Linked DNA regions of Homo sapiens: region 1 is linked to region 2. Evidence: promoter capture Hi-C in human tissues and cell types (Jung and others, 2019). All regions are on one chromosome and are shown on one strand. The core of a region is centred on a gene start or on the middle of the fragment in contact, and the rest is flanking DNA. Distances in the headings are between cores, read along the strand shown.

Region 1 (6,772 bases), core at 1,865-4,364, 380 kb after region 2:
CTGCCAGGGCCTTCTCCATTTGTACTTTTGCCCCAGACTGGCTCTCAAAGTGTGGTCCCAGACCAGCAACATCAACGTCACCTGGAAGCTTGTTAGAATGCAAATTCTATGGCTCCACTCCAGATCTACTGACTCAGGAACTCTGGGGGTGGGGCCTGGGGAGCTCCGATTTAACAACCTTCCAGGTGATTCTGATGCAGCTAAAGTTTGAGAACCATTGCCTTAGACAAACCCACCCCTAGCAGTCACCTCCTCCCATTGACTGGAAATTCCCACATCTTCATCTTTAACCTCGACTTCTCTTCAAGCTACATACCTACACATGCAAGTATGCTCTCTGGCCATCTCTGCCTTGCCACTCCACAGTCTCCTATACTGAATGCTGCCCAAAAAGGACTTACTTATCATCTCCCCGAGGATCTGTTCTTTCTCCCTCATTCCCAGCAACTCATGCCAACACCATCTCCCCACCTACCCAAGACAGAAACCAGGAAGTCATCCTAGACTCCTGCTTTTCCCTCATCCAGTCAGCCACCAGGTCAGGTTGATTCTACCTTCTCTTTTTTTTTAAGATGGAGTTTCGCTCTTGTCGGTCAGGCTGGAGTGCAGTGGTGCGATCTCAGCTCACTGAAAACCTCTACCTTCCGGTTTCAAGTGATTCTCTTGCCTCAGCCTCCCGAGTAGCTGGGATTACAGGCATCCACAACCATGCCCAGCTAATTTTTGTATTTTTAGTAGAGACGGGATTTCACCATGTTGGCCAGGCTGGTCTCAAACTCCTGTCCTCATGATCCACCTACCTCGGCCTCCCAAAGTGCTGGGATTACAGGCATCCACAACCATGCCCAGCTAATTTTTGTATTTTTAGTAGAGACGGGATTTCACCATGTTGGCCAGGCTGGTCTCAAACTCCTGTCCTCGTGATCCACCTACCTCGGCCTCCCAAAGTGTTGGGATTACAGGCGTGAGACACTGTGCCTGGCATCTTCTCTCCATTTTTATGACCTTAATTCAGATTCTCAGCTGGCCTAAGTCAGCTTCCAATGAGGCACCCAAGGACCTAATGTAGTACCCGTCTCTTCCAACCCTCACACTATTGCCAAGATAATCCCTCTAAAACATGAGTCTAAATGCATTAACCTTACCTAAAACTCAAGGTTGCCCACTAAACCTTAGCACCAAATCCCAACTTCTCAACAAGGAAGTATCCAGTCTCATCTTCTGCTGTTCCTATAGACATTCCAGGTAGATGTAACCATTTGCCTCAGCAATCTTACTCCTGAGAATATAGCTTCCAAATTATCAAACAGCTCCACAAGGTGACATGTACAAAGATATTTATCACAGCTTCCAGAGTTGGAATCAACTTTGGCTTCCATCACTGGAAGAGTGAATAGGCAAAAGGTGGTGGATGCATACTCTGACTAATCAATGGCTCTAATTAAACTCCCTATAACCATCCCTTTGCAATGTCGCTTTTCAGTTCCTCCCATCAAGTGGTGGAGTCTATTTCCCCACACTTTGAATCCAGACTGGATTTGTGGATTGGACTCGTGCCTTGGTTTAGCCAACAGAATATGGCAGAAATGACTGTGGTCAAGTTCCAAGTATAGGCCTTGCACAATTCTCCTCCCTTGGATTCCTGGCCTTGCCATCAGGTGACCAAGTTTAGGCCAAACTGATGAAGGATGACAACAATGTGCCATGGACCTCTTAAATCATGCAGTCTCCAGCAGATCACAGATGAATGAGTGACACCAGCTGAGATCAGCAGACCCAGACACAAATCAGCCAAACCACTCAACCAACCCCACAGACTCACGAAAAAGGAGTGACCATTGTTTTAAGTCACTAAGTTTGGGATGGTTCATCACAAAGCATACTAACTGCTACACACTCCAAGGAGTACCAGGAAAGCAATTCAAAGCAACAGAATAGATGGATCCATAGCAACATGAATTGATTTTAATAGCATAGGGTTAACTGGAAAAGAACTGAATGAGATATCTTAACACAATTCCATCTACATAAGTTATCTACAGTCAATACACATTTTATTTTTTAAAAACATGCAAAATTAAAGATTTCTGTTATATTTAACCCACGAATATGGTTGCCAGTGGCATGGAGGAAAGGAGGCACAAATGAGGAAACAATAAGAGGCCTCCATGGAACAATGATGATGCTGTATGAACTGAAGAGTGGGATTTCTCAACCCTCCACACTTACTAATGCCTACTCATCTGGTAAGTCCCAGCCCAAATGGGGCTCCTACTTATAGCCTGCTGTGCCATCTCCTCTCAGATCATTAAGGCTCGTAGATGAATAAGAAAGTGTATTTACCATAGTTTTGTGATTGTCAACAGCTGTGATATAACCAGCTTTGAAGGCAGGGTCCAGGACTTCATTTTCTTGGAACACCCAGTATCTCATACACTGCACATATTTGTCAGTAAAATAACTTTCTATCCTGTAAAGCAGTTTTTCCAACCTTGCCATCAGTGACATTTTGTACCTGATGCCAATACCACCCTCCTAGTTGTGACAATCAAAAATGTCTCCAGTCGCAGGAGAATGGCGTGAACCCGGGAGGCTGAGCTTGCAGTGAGCAGAGATCACGCCACTGCACTCCAGCCTGGGTGACAGAGCGAGACTCCGTCTGAAAAAAAAAAAAAAAAGCCTCCAGTCATTACCAAATGTTCCCTAGGGAAAAAAACTGCACCCTGACTGAGAACCACTGCCTTAGCCGCTTGAGTCCATAAAGCCACAACTCGAAGATGGCTTTGTAGAAACATTTAATATGTTTGAAACAAAAATGTTTGAGATTAGGAATTACATCACTCTCTACCTAATGCCGCCCAAGGGAGATTTAGATTGCCAAAATATTTCTGTCTTAAAGAGATGGTTCTCAGCCACTAGCCCAAAACTAATGTTTTAGTTCACTACCCTATGGGGAAAGATTAAATACAAAATTCACTTGAGCTTTCTCATCTATGCAGAAATATTCCTCCTCATAAGCTTTAGTCAAACCTTTTATTTACAAAGTTTAAATCTGTCTCCTTAAGTCAATGGCATAGGCTGCTGATTTCTGTTATACTGCAGAAGCTGTTTATCTAGCTGGACCTGCTAAAGCAGATGTTCCTACTCTGTACTATTAACTGGAACATGAAAAACCAACATGTAACCAAGCTGAAAGAATTCTGCCTCATTTATCTTGTGTGTGCCACCAGGGCAAACACCAGGCATTTTAATAACCTCATCTGGACCTTCGGTAATCATTGCAGGCTACTAACTCCAGACAAATATTTGCCTTGGAGGTTTCTCTATGGAGAGACAGAAGTAAACTAAGCTTCTTTTGTTCATATAGATTGAGTATGACAATCTAGAAAATACAGAGCACTCACATCATTCATTTCTTGTAACTATACAAATAAAGGAGCAATGGAATTGATTCTACAAAGATCTGCTGGAATACATTTCCTTTATACTTTTCCTTTCCCCCATGCCATCTCCAACAACAAATCAAAGTACAGCTGAGAAGAACATCAGTGGATGTTACAATCAGAGAGGCCAAGGCTGTTGGGGGAAAATTCATTCTCCTTGTCTCAGAATAGGACACCCATTTTCAGCCCCCTGCCAACACCCAAACTTTTACATGAGAATAGGGTCCCTTTTATAAGACCTGGCAGATGCTACTGTAACTAAGTGACCAAACTTAGCAACACTGATTTTGGTACAACCAATTATCATGCGATCACAACCAGATACATGCCAGCACCACCTGGGCTGTATTCTTACCCAAATGGTCTAACAGGCTGAGGATTTTTCTAGATTAAAGGTGACTAAAGAAACATGGCAACTAAAAGAAATCTGTCGATCCTTGACTGGATCCTCAAACAAAAGGCTGAAGTAAAGGACATTCTTGGGACAAAGTAGAAAATTTGAATATGGACTGCATCACATATTAGTGAATTGATGCTAAATTCCTTGAGTGTGATGAAGGTATTACAATTAATTTAAATAATTTAATAGTTATTTAATGATTTTTGGTAAATACATACTGAAATACCTAGGGAATAAATGTCAGGCCTGCAACTTCCCAGTGGTTTAACAACAACCACAACAAAAATAAGATCACACACATTCACACAGCGAGAGAAACCAGATGTAAAAAAATGTGAGCTGGCAAATGTAAGTGAGGAGTCTACAAAATTTAAGCGAAGGAGTCTATATTGTTCTACTTTCCTGCAGATTTGAAATTTTTCAAAATTACAGTTGGGAGGGGGAGGGGGGAAGCTCGGTTACCATCAATGTGTAAACAAGCCAGAATGTTTCAGAAATGAAACATACGGGAAGAAAGTATGAGAACCAAACAGTATTTCCTGCCTCAAATTTGAAGATAAGCGACCCAATTTACTTTTAAGTGTTTGGAGGCATAAGATAAAAACAAAAACGAAACACCTGAATCTAAACCAACACATTTGACCCTGTCACCACATTAAGAACGAGCTGAACTCAGACATTTTGATGCATCAGAGTTCTCAAAAATACTAGAAATATCTCACTGATATGATAATGGCCTTGAAGATTTATGCAGATACGAAATGAATTCCAAGCAAAGCATTAAAGTAATCTTCATAACTTGTTAACACAACTGCTCTCAAGAGAATGTTGAGAAATCTTGCCAGGAAAGGCCTACAGTTCCCAGCAAGCAGTAACTATCAGCAACTTAAGAAGACAAAGATCTTTTTTAAAAACCTTACTTATTTGCAACCTACATTTGTTTTGGATCCTAGACGCCTGCAATTTGGACACTCAATTTAGAGTTTATGTAATAGTGATCAAAAAGGATTTGCTGGAAGGGAGAAAGCTGTGCAATCGGGCATGTGATTGTAAGAGCTGGGGGTCAAAGAGACGAAATTGGTTTAATAAAACAAAATGGGGCCACCTGGGTATTTAAGTGTGAGACCAGGTCTCTCTCCAAAGACAACAAAGTTCTACATCTAATGCCCCAGGGTTCCTTTGTTCAAATTCAGCCAATCTCTTCATGCCATGGGTCTTAAAAGATCCTGAAGTTACAGACTTCAGGTACTTGGTGTGTATGCGCACAGGTACTTCATACACTTCGTGTGTGTGCGCACAGGTTTCCAAGGAGAGGGACCTTAGCTTTCTTCTTTTCTCAACAGATCCCTCACCTCCTCAAATAGGTGAAAAACCCATGCCTTGTGAAATTTGCTCCAATTTCTTCTCTGGGCTTGAAAAACCCAGGGAAATCCTAGCACTCACAAGTCCACTTCTAAATTCAAAAGGGCCTCTGATTCCTTCTCTTCTACTTCCATCTGTCTCACCACTGTTCCAGCTTTGTCAGGGGGCCAATCGCCTTTTGGGAGCCTTGTTTCATCTAATCCTCCCTTAGGCAAGGAAATCTTTGCTCTCAGACTTAAAACTAACTTTGAACTGGAAAGTGACCTAAGATGTCGGGAACAACCATAAACTGAACAGCATACAGAGGCAGAAAATTGCATTTTGTACTTTTCTATCCAATGCTGTGCTACTTGTTCCAATAAAGAATTAACTTCAAGGTAGTTATTTTGTGGGGGTATTTTGTTTTGTTTCTGAGACAAGGTCTTTGTCACCCAGGCTAGAGTGCAGTGGTGCAATCATAGCTCACGGCATCTCCAATTCCTGGGCTCAAGCAGTCCTCCCACCTTAGCCCCCACCTCCAAGTAGTTATGACACGTGCCACATTTCAGCTAATTAAATTTTTTTTTTTTTGTAGAGACAGGAATTGCCCATGTTGGTCTCCTGCCTTGGCCCCCCAAAGCGTTGGGATTACAGGCATGAGCCACCATGTCTGGCCTATGCTATTCTTATTAAGAAAAAAAAAAAAGTCAGCAATCAGTGATCACTCTTAATTCCACCGAAAGGAATTTGGGTCTATTCTATTTTTGTTGCAAAAATTTTAGCACCAGAAAGAATATTAATGACTATGAATTCAAGCTTTTCATTTGACATATGCAAAAACAAAAGTACTGTGATTTACCCAATGTCACATGGCTGGTTAGCCAGACTCGAAATGGAAACCTCTTGACACTCAGTCCAATGTTCTCTGACATCACCTGCCTTTTCACACCAATGCCCTCTGAAAAATACTATTTTTCTTTCTTTTTTTTTTTTTGTTTCATATCAATGATAAGAACTGCTGGATGGAAACCAAAATCATTCATGGAAAACTGTATGAGATTTCAGGAATCCCCAGTGCAATGTCACCGATGCCGGGATGAGTCATACTGCAGCTTGATCAAGTCCAGGTAGACAGAGGACCCCTCCCAAGGGCTGTGTCTCCCCTATCCCTCTTCATCCACCACTCTCCCTTGACCACTTTCTGCACCACTGGCAGGAGGGAAAGATAAGGTGGAATCCTTTTGCCCATATATTGAATGATTATTTAATTGCCCTGTTTCTAGTTTTAAAAACAACAGGATAGAAATTTATATATTGTTATTTAAAATGTCTTATGTTGCTTTATATATATATATACAGCTGTCAAAGTATAATTTTTTTTTGAAAAGGTCAGCTCTTGACTCATATAGAGTATGCATATGCTAAAGATTCTGTAACTTGATGAGTTTGTCAACTTAAGCAGAATGACAAAGCTGGCTCAAAGGTGGATGGCACAGAAACCTAAGTAGGGCAAAAAATCTGTGGAAAGATGAATGCCGGGATAAGGCTGGAAACTTAGAAACAAACCGGGTTAATGTCCTACCTGGCA
Region 2 (6,738 bases), core at 4,057-6,556:
AGGATTGCTTAAGCCCAGGAGTTCATGGCTGCAGTGAGCTATGATGGTGCCACTGCACACCAACATGGGTGAAAGAGTGAGACCCTGTCTCAAAACAAAACAAAACAAAAAAACCAAAAAACTCAGAGCCTGAGATTATATCATTTAACCTGTTACCATACCTGTGAGGTAGATACTTTCATCGTTCTCATTCTACACGCAGGAAAGCTGAAGCTTAAAAAAAAGACTTCTTGAAATTTGCCCAATTTCCCACAAATACCAAGTAGTACAGCTAGGATGAACCTAAACTATCTGATTTCAAAGCCCCTACTCTTATCATTCCTTACCTGGATCAGTTAAATATAAATCAGATCACACCATCATGCCCTTATTGAAAACTTCCACTCTCTTCCCATTAGTTAAAATGAATTCAAACTCCCTCCATGGCCTGTAACGCCCAACATACACCAACTCCTGATACAACTGTGACTTTATCTCTTGCCATGCTGCCTTTGCTCCCTATGCTATAAATTATGTGTATTGGCTTTTTTGTTTTCTGTTTGAGACAGGGTCGCACTGTCACCCAGGCTACAGTACAGTGGCACAATTATAGCTCACTGCAACCTTCAACTCCTGGGCTCAAGCCATCCTCTCATCTCAGACTCTGGAGTAGCTAGGACTTCAGGGTCACGCCACCATGCCTAGCTAATTTTTTTTTATTTTTTACGGAGACAAGTCTGGCTATGTCGCCTAGGCTGGTCTTGAACTCCTGGCCTCAAGCGATTCTCCCACCTCAGCCTCCCACAGGTGTGAGCATCTATGCCCAGCCTTAAATTATGTGTTGAGTGTCTCTTGTCAGATATTGTTCTAGGGACTAGAGCTAGAACACAACTAACACAGACAAAAGTCTCTATCTTCGGGGAGCTTGTATTCAAGGGGTCTGCTTGATGTTCTTTAGACATTTTCCAAGCAAGGGTTCTGTACATTTGCATATTTGTTGCTCCTCTTACCTGGATCATTCTTCCCAACACAGCTGGCTCTTTATCCTTAGGGTTTCTGTCTAAATGTCAACTCTAAGAAAGCCCTTCTCTAATCTATCTGAAAAACAAGGCTTTCAGTCATCCTCTATTCTTTTTTTTCTTTTTCTTTTTTTTTTTTTTTGAGATGGTGTTTTGCTCTTGTTGCCCAGGCTGGAGGGCAATGGCACGATCTTGGCTCACTGCAACCTCTGCCACCTGGGTTCAAGTGATTCTCTTGCTTCAGCCTCCCGAGTAGCTGGGAATACAGGCGTCTGCCACCACGACCAGCTAATTTTTGTATTTTTAGTCAAGACAGGGTTTCAACATGTTGGCCAGCCTGGTCTCAAACTCCTGTCCTCAGGTGATCCACTCACCTCGGCCTCCCAAAGTCCTGGGATTACAGGTGGGAGCCACAGGCACCCGCCAGCAGGCCCTGCTAATTTTTTTGTATTTTTAGTAGAGACGGGGTATCACTGTGTTAGCCAGGATGGTCTCGATCTCTTGACCTCGTGATCTGCCACCTCGGCCTCCCAAAGTGCTGGGATTACAGGCGTGAGCCACCACGTCCGGCCTTTTATTTTATTTTTTTGAGAGAGGGTCTCATCCTGTTGCCTGGACAGTGGCGTGATCAAAGCTCACTGCAGCCTTGAACTCCTAGGTACAAGCAATCCTCCCACCTCAGCCTCCCTAGGAGCTGAGACTATAGGCACACACCATGATATCTGGCTTTTTATTTTTTAGAGTCAGGGTTTCACTTATGCTGCCCAGGCTGGTCTCAAACTCCTGGCCTCAGGCAATCCTCCCACTTCAGCCACCCAAAGTGCTAGGATTACAGGTGTGAGCAACTGCAGACAGCCTCTCTTACTCATTTTTTTCTTCTGAGTATTATTTTTTTTTTTGAGATGGAATCTCACTCTGTCACCCAGCCTGGAGTGCAGTGGTGCGATCTCGGGTTGCTGCAACCTCTGCCTCCCAGGTTCAAGCAATTCTCCTGCCTCAGCCTCCCAGCTAGCTGGGATTACAGGTGTGCGCCAGCATGCCTGGCTAATTTTTGTATTTTTAGTAGATGGGGTTTCACCATGTTGGTCAGGCTGGTTTTGAACTCCTGACCTCAGGTGATCCACCCCCCTCAGCCTCCCAAAATGCTGGGATTACAGGTGTGAGCCACTGCACTTGGCCTTCTTCAGAGTATCTATCACAACTTGAAATCATCTTATTTTTCATTTTATTTACATGCTTATCTGTCCTTCATAGTAAATAAGCTCCAGAACAGAGACTTTGTTTTGTTCCTGCCCAGTTCCTAAAGTAGTACCTGGCAAAACAGGCCATTGGTGAATATTTACTGAATAAATTAATATCACAACATTAACTCATCTTAGGTGGTCTCTAGGCTTCCTGTCTTACTTCATTTAAATCCACCACCTACAACAGTCAGTGTGATCAGATCACTCACCTTAAGTCCTTTCATGACCCTTTTTTCTTACCTGATGAAGAACACACACACAAGACCCTCCGTGACAAATATCCTGACCTCGTGAGCTCAGAGAGGAAGCAGCATGTAAGATAGACTGAATGAATAGTGTTCACCAGACGGAGAAGAGAAAGGACACTACGGCTCAAAAGCTCAAAAAACACAATGCTTTGCAACAGTAATTTATGATGTGAAGAGCTGGGTGGGTTGATACAGAAATCCAGCTGGAAATAGATTTTGAAGATGCTCACAAACCACATTAGAGTGAGGACGGCAGGGCGCGGTGGCTCACGCCTGTAATCCCAGCACTTTGGGAGGGCGAGGCAGGCGGATCACAAGGTCAGGAAATGGAGACCATCCTGGCTAACATGGTGAAACCCTGTCTCTACTAAAAAATACAAAAAAATTAGCAGGGCGTGGTGGCGGGCGCCTGTAGTCCCAGCTACTCGGGTGGCTGAGGCAGGAGAATGGCGTGAACCCGGGAGGCGGAGCTTGCAATGAGCCGATATCGCACCACTGCACTCCAGCCTGGGTGACAGAGCGAGACTCCGTCTCAAAAAAAAAAAAAAAAACAAAAAAAAAAAACCGTGAGGACTTAAAAGGAGAAAGAAAATACAATAAAAATTAAATAAAAAGAATGATGACTTGATGCCCAAAGCATGTACAGTCTTAGAAACTTTATAGGAAGGGGAATGACAGGATTCAATGAATGTCTTAGGACATAAAAAAAGCGGGGGGCGACAGTGAGGAAAATGGATGGGATAGGAAGAGACAAGAGACAAACACCAGTGAGAAGACTACTCAATGCGACATAGATCATATTAAAAGATAAAGGCCAGAAACACAGCAGATGAGATGGAGATGAGCAGAGATTCAAAGGAGCTACACTAAACACTCATCTATTTTATTCAAATTTAACCTTATATCAAAGCAGGAAGTTTCCTTCAATATGGCCTATAAACTTAAACCAATGAAAAAAACAGTCCCCTAATCACTGTGGACCTTATTCTTCAACTACACACATTACACAGCTCTTACCAAACAGGAGTGCAGCTAGGATATGCCTGTCTCCTCCAACAGACTGAACAGCAGGTCTTCAAAGGCAGGGAGTGTGTCATATCCATTATTCAACACTCAATCTTTGCGAATGAATAAATGAACAAGTAGAAGGCTTTATGACTGAGGATTTGAAAACTGGATGGGCTTTAGGTCTAAAAGGGTGATTTCGGGCAAGCGCAATGGTATGAGCAAGTAGGAATGGTAAATGTGGGGAACACAGACACTATTCTAAAATAAGGAGGAAGATGTTGGTCCCCTGGTCCAGCCTTGGACAGGCCATGCCGTTTTCCTGTCTAATAGTCTCTCCCTCATCCACCTTTCCTCATTTCTTATGGCTCATTCCCTCACTTCTTACATATCTCTGCTCAAATATCATCTCACCAGAGGCCTTCCCTGAACAACCTATCCAAAATTTCACAGCACATTCCTTATACCCTCTCAAGGCCTTTGTTCTGTTGTTTTTCTTCTTAGATTATTGAAGAGATCCTCTAATGATTTTTATTCCTCTGTACCTAAAATAGAATTGGCTTAATTTCCAAGTGAAGTTCATTTGTCAGTTATTGTGACCAGAACCTACTAAAATCCACAGCACACTGAGTTTTTCTTTAATTTTAAATTAAATTCACTGTAAAAATTTTAAGTTCCATCACTTTTAAATCCTGTCACTTAAGTTCTTTCCAATAAAACCTGGATGCCACAAAGAATATGAATTTCTTGCGGGAAACATTCCGGACAAGGTCAGGAAATAATTTTATATTCCTTAATGTGGAAGATTCTAGGAATGGGAGCAATAATCCATAAAGAAAACCATTGAGATTAAGTAATTTCGAGGAACTAGAGCAATTAAGTACCAAATGCAAGATTTTAGGAGCACAGACTGTAGAGAGACAATAGGATTTTATGCCTTTTTAAATAAGTGGTTTACTTTGAGAGGCCAAGGCGGAAGGATCGCTTGGGCCCAGAAGTTCGAGATCAGCCTGGGCACCATAGCGAGACCCCCGCCCGTCTCTATCAAGAAAAAAAAAAGTGGTTTTTACAAAGTTAATTTCACAGGAGTCAATGACCAGAGGAAGCCACATGTGGTCAAAACAGCCCAGGTGAATCCCAGCCTCAGCCACGCGATATTATAGGCAGATGTGTGCTCCAGGGTGACTTTCTCTTGTCTGCTTTTCCCACGAAGAAGCGGAAAATTCTGCGAAGCGGCAAAATACATTTAAGCTTTTTGGGCCGGAGTTATTCTGAAGAGCAGGGCAAAGGCGGCCAGTGGCGACTTCAAATACTGCACTTGAGTAAAACAACTATTGGACCCGGGGCCCGAAGACTCATGTTAGCGACAGCCGAGACAGAGGATGGGGTAAAGAAATGCACGCCCAAATTCAAGTCGCCCTGGAGTCCCCACCCCGGGCCCCGCCGCCTCCGAGTTCAGGGTCCGCCCGGCCCCGCACGTCCCGCCGTCTCGTCGCTCGGGACATTGGCGCCCTACCTGCAGGCTTGTCTGCAGCCATCTTCCCGCTTCGACTCGGGTTCTTCCCTGCAGGTGGCGTGGCCCTGACTCCCGCCGCCGGGCTGGCCGCTGTCCTGGACCTCCGAGGACAACTCTGTGCCTACCCCGGCTCCGGGCCCCCAGGTTCCGGCTAGAGGAGTGGGCAGACGGCGGGCTGAGGAAGTGACGAGAGCTAGTTCCCGTCGTCTAGCAACAGCAACAGCTTCCCCACCAAGGGACCGCCACAGCCTCCCGCCATACACAGCTTCCGCCTCACGGCGTCCCGGTACCCACTACTTCCGGGGGCGGCAGCCTGCCGCGCCTGGAGCGCCGGCGTGGGAACTGCTACTGGCCCCGCCCCACGCCGACGTCCCCTCCGCGCCCCGCCTCCGGCCGGACGTACTCTGGCTGGAACCTCTGGATGTTCACAGGGCTGACGCGGTGGGACGTACGCGCGTCTGTCCTTTGCTTACTCTAATTAAAACACCGAGGTGTCAGAGCTTTTGTCCCTCAATGTTACATAATATTACAATAACCACATCTGACATTTATGTGCTAAGCACTGAGCCCTGCACTTGGTCTGTACTATCTCATTGATTTCTTGCAACCCCATGAGAGAGGCGCTGTTGAGGATTCCCGTTTAAAAAGAAACGCCTTTTATTTTAGAATAGTTGTAGTTGTGCAGAAAAGTTGCAAAGATGACACCTAGAGTTCCTGTCTCCTCACCTAGTTTCTCCTATTGTGAACATCTTAATTATTTTACTATGTTACGTTGATCACATCTAAGAAACCAGTTTGATTGGCGCACTATTACTCACTAAACTACACATTTTATTCACATTTACCAGCTTTCTTTCAATGTCCTTTTTTTGTTGTTGTTCCAGGATCCTGTCCAGGACACCATATTGCATTTATTCATTATGTCGTCTTAGGCTATTTTTGGCTGTGGCAGTTTCTCAGATTCTTCTTGTTTTTGATGACCTTGACAGTTTTGAAGAGTTACTCCTCAGATATTTGGTGGAATGTGCCTCAATTTGGGTTTGGCCAATATTTTTCTCATGGTTAGACTGGGGTTTTGGGTGTTTAGGAGGAAGACCACAAGGTGACTGGCTGTTCTCATCACATAGAATCAAGGGTACATGCTGTCAAAATGACATCACTGATCATGTTAACCTTGATTACCTCTCTAAGGTAGTGCTTGCCAGTTTTCTCTACTGTGCAATTACTCCTCCTACCCTTCCACACTACTTTGGAACCAAGTCAATAAATGCAACCCACACTCAAGGTGGGAAGGCGGGGTATTTAAGCTCTACCTCCTGCAGTGGGGAGTATGTACATAAATTATCTTCCCCAAGGGAAGTTTGCCTCTTCTCCCTCACTTAGCTATTTATATCAGTATGGACTCATGGATGTTTATCTTATAATGGTTACATTCCAATACTACATTATTTTGTTGCTAAAATTGTCCCAGCTTTGTTAATTGGGAGATTTTTCAGGTTTGTACCTGTTTTTTTCTTTTTTTTTAACTTTTGTTTTAAACTTTCTTTTAAAAAAGTATTTGTTTTTGGCCGGGCGTGGTGGCTCACACCTGCAATCCCAGCACTTTGGGAGGCCAAGGCAAGTGGATCACTTGAGGTCAGGAGTTTGTGACCAGCCTGGCCAACATGGTGAAACCCCGTCTCTACTAAAAATACAAAAATTAGCTGGGCGTGGTGGTGTGCACCTGT

What was found. Contacts are between HindIII fragments. The study calls those that stand out against the background at their distance.
Region 1: a fragment that was not itself captured here is called in contact with the fragment with the promoter of CNOT10 in region 2 in 1 of the 25 tissues and cell types used here (liver).

What each region holds. Positions count from the first base shown.
Region 1 is chr3:32,301,139-32,307,910 of GRCh38, reverse strand. All of the region lies in intron 1 of CMTM8 (CKLF like MARVEL transmembrane domain containing 8), which reads right to left. Among named protein-coding and RNA genes, the nearest start is that of CMTM8, 66 kb to the right of the region's middle. The HindIII fragment of the contact is 3,122 bases long and covers 1,554-4,675 here.
Region 2 is chr3:32,683,756-32,690,493 of GRCh38, reverse strand. It overlaps CNOT10 (CCR4-NOT transcription complex subunit 10), which reads right to left and starts at 5,306. Exons shown (of 19, transcript NM_015442.3): 1 at 5,012-5,306. The coding sequence starts at 5,033. RefSeq lists a silencer at 5,196-5,505. The HindIII fragment of the contact is 8,061 bases long and covers 2,481-6,738 here.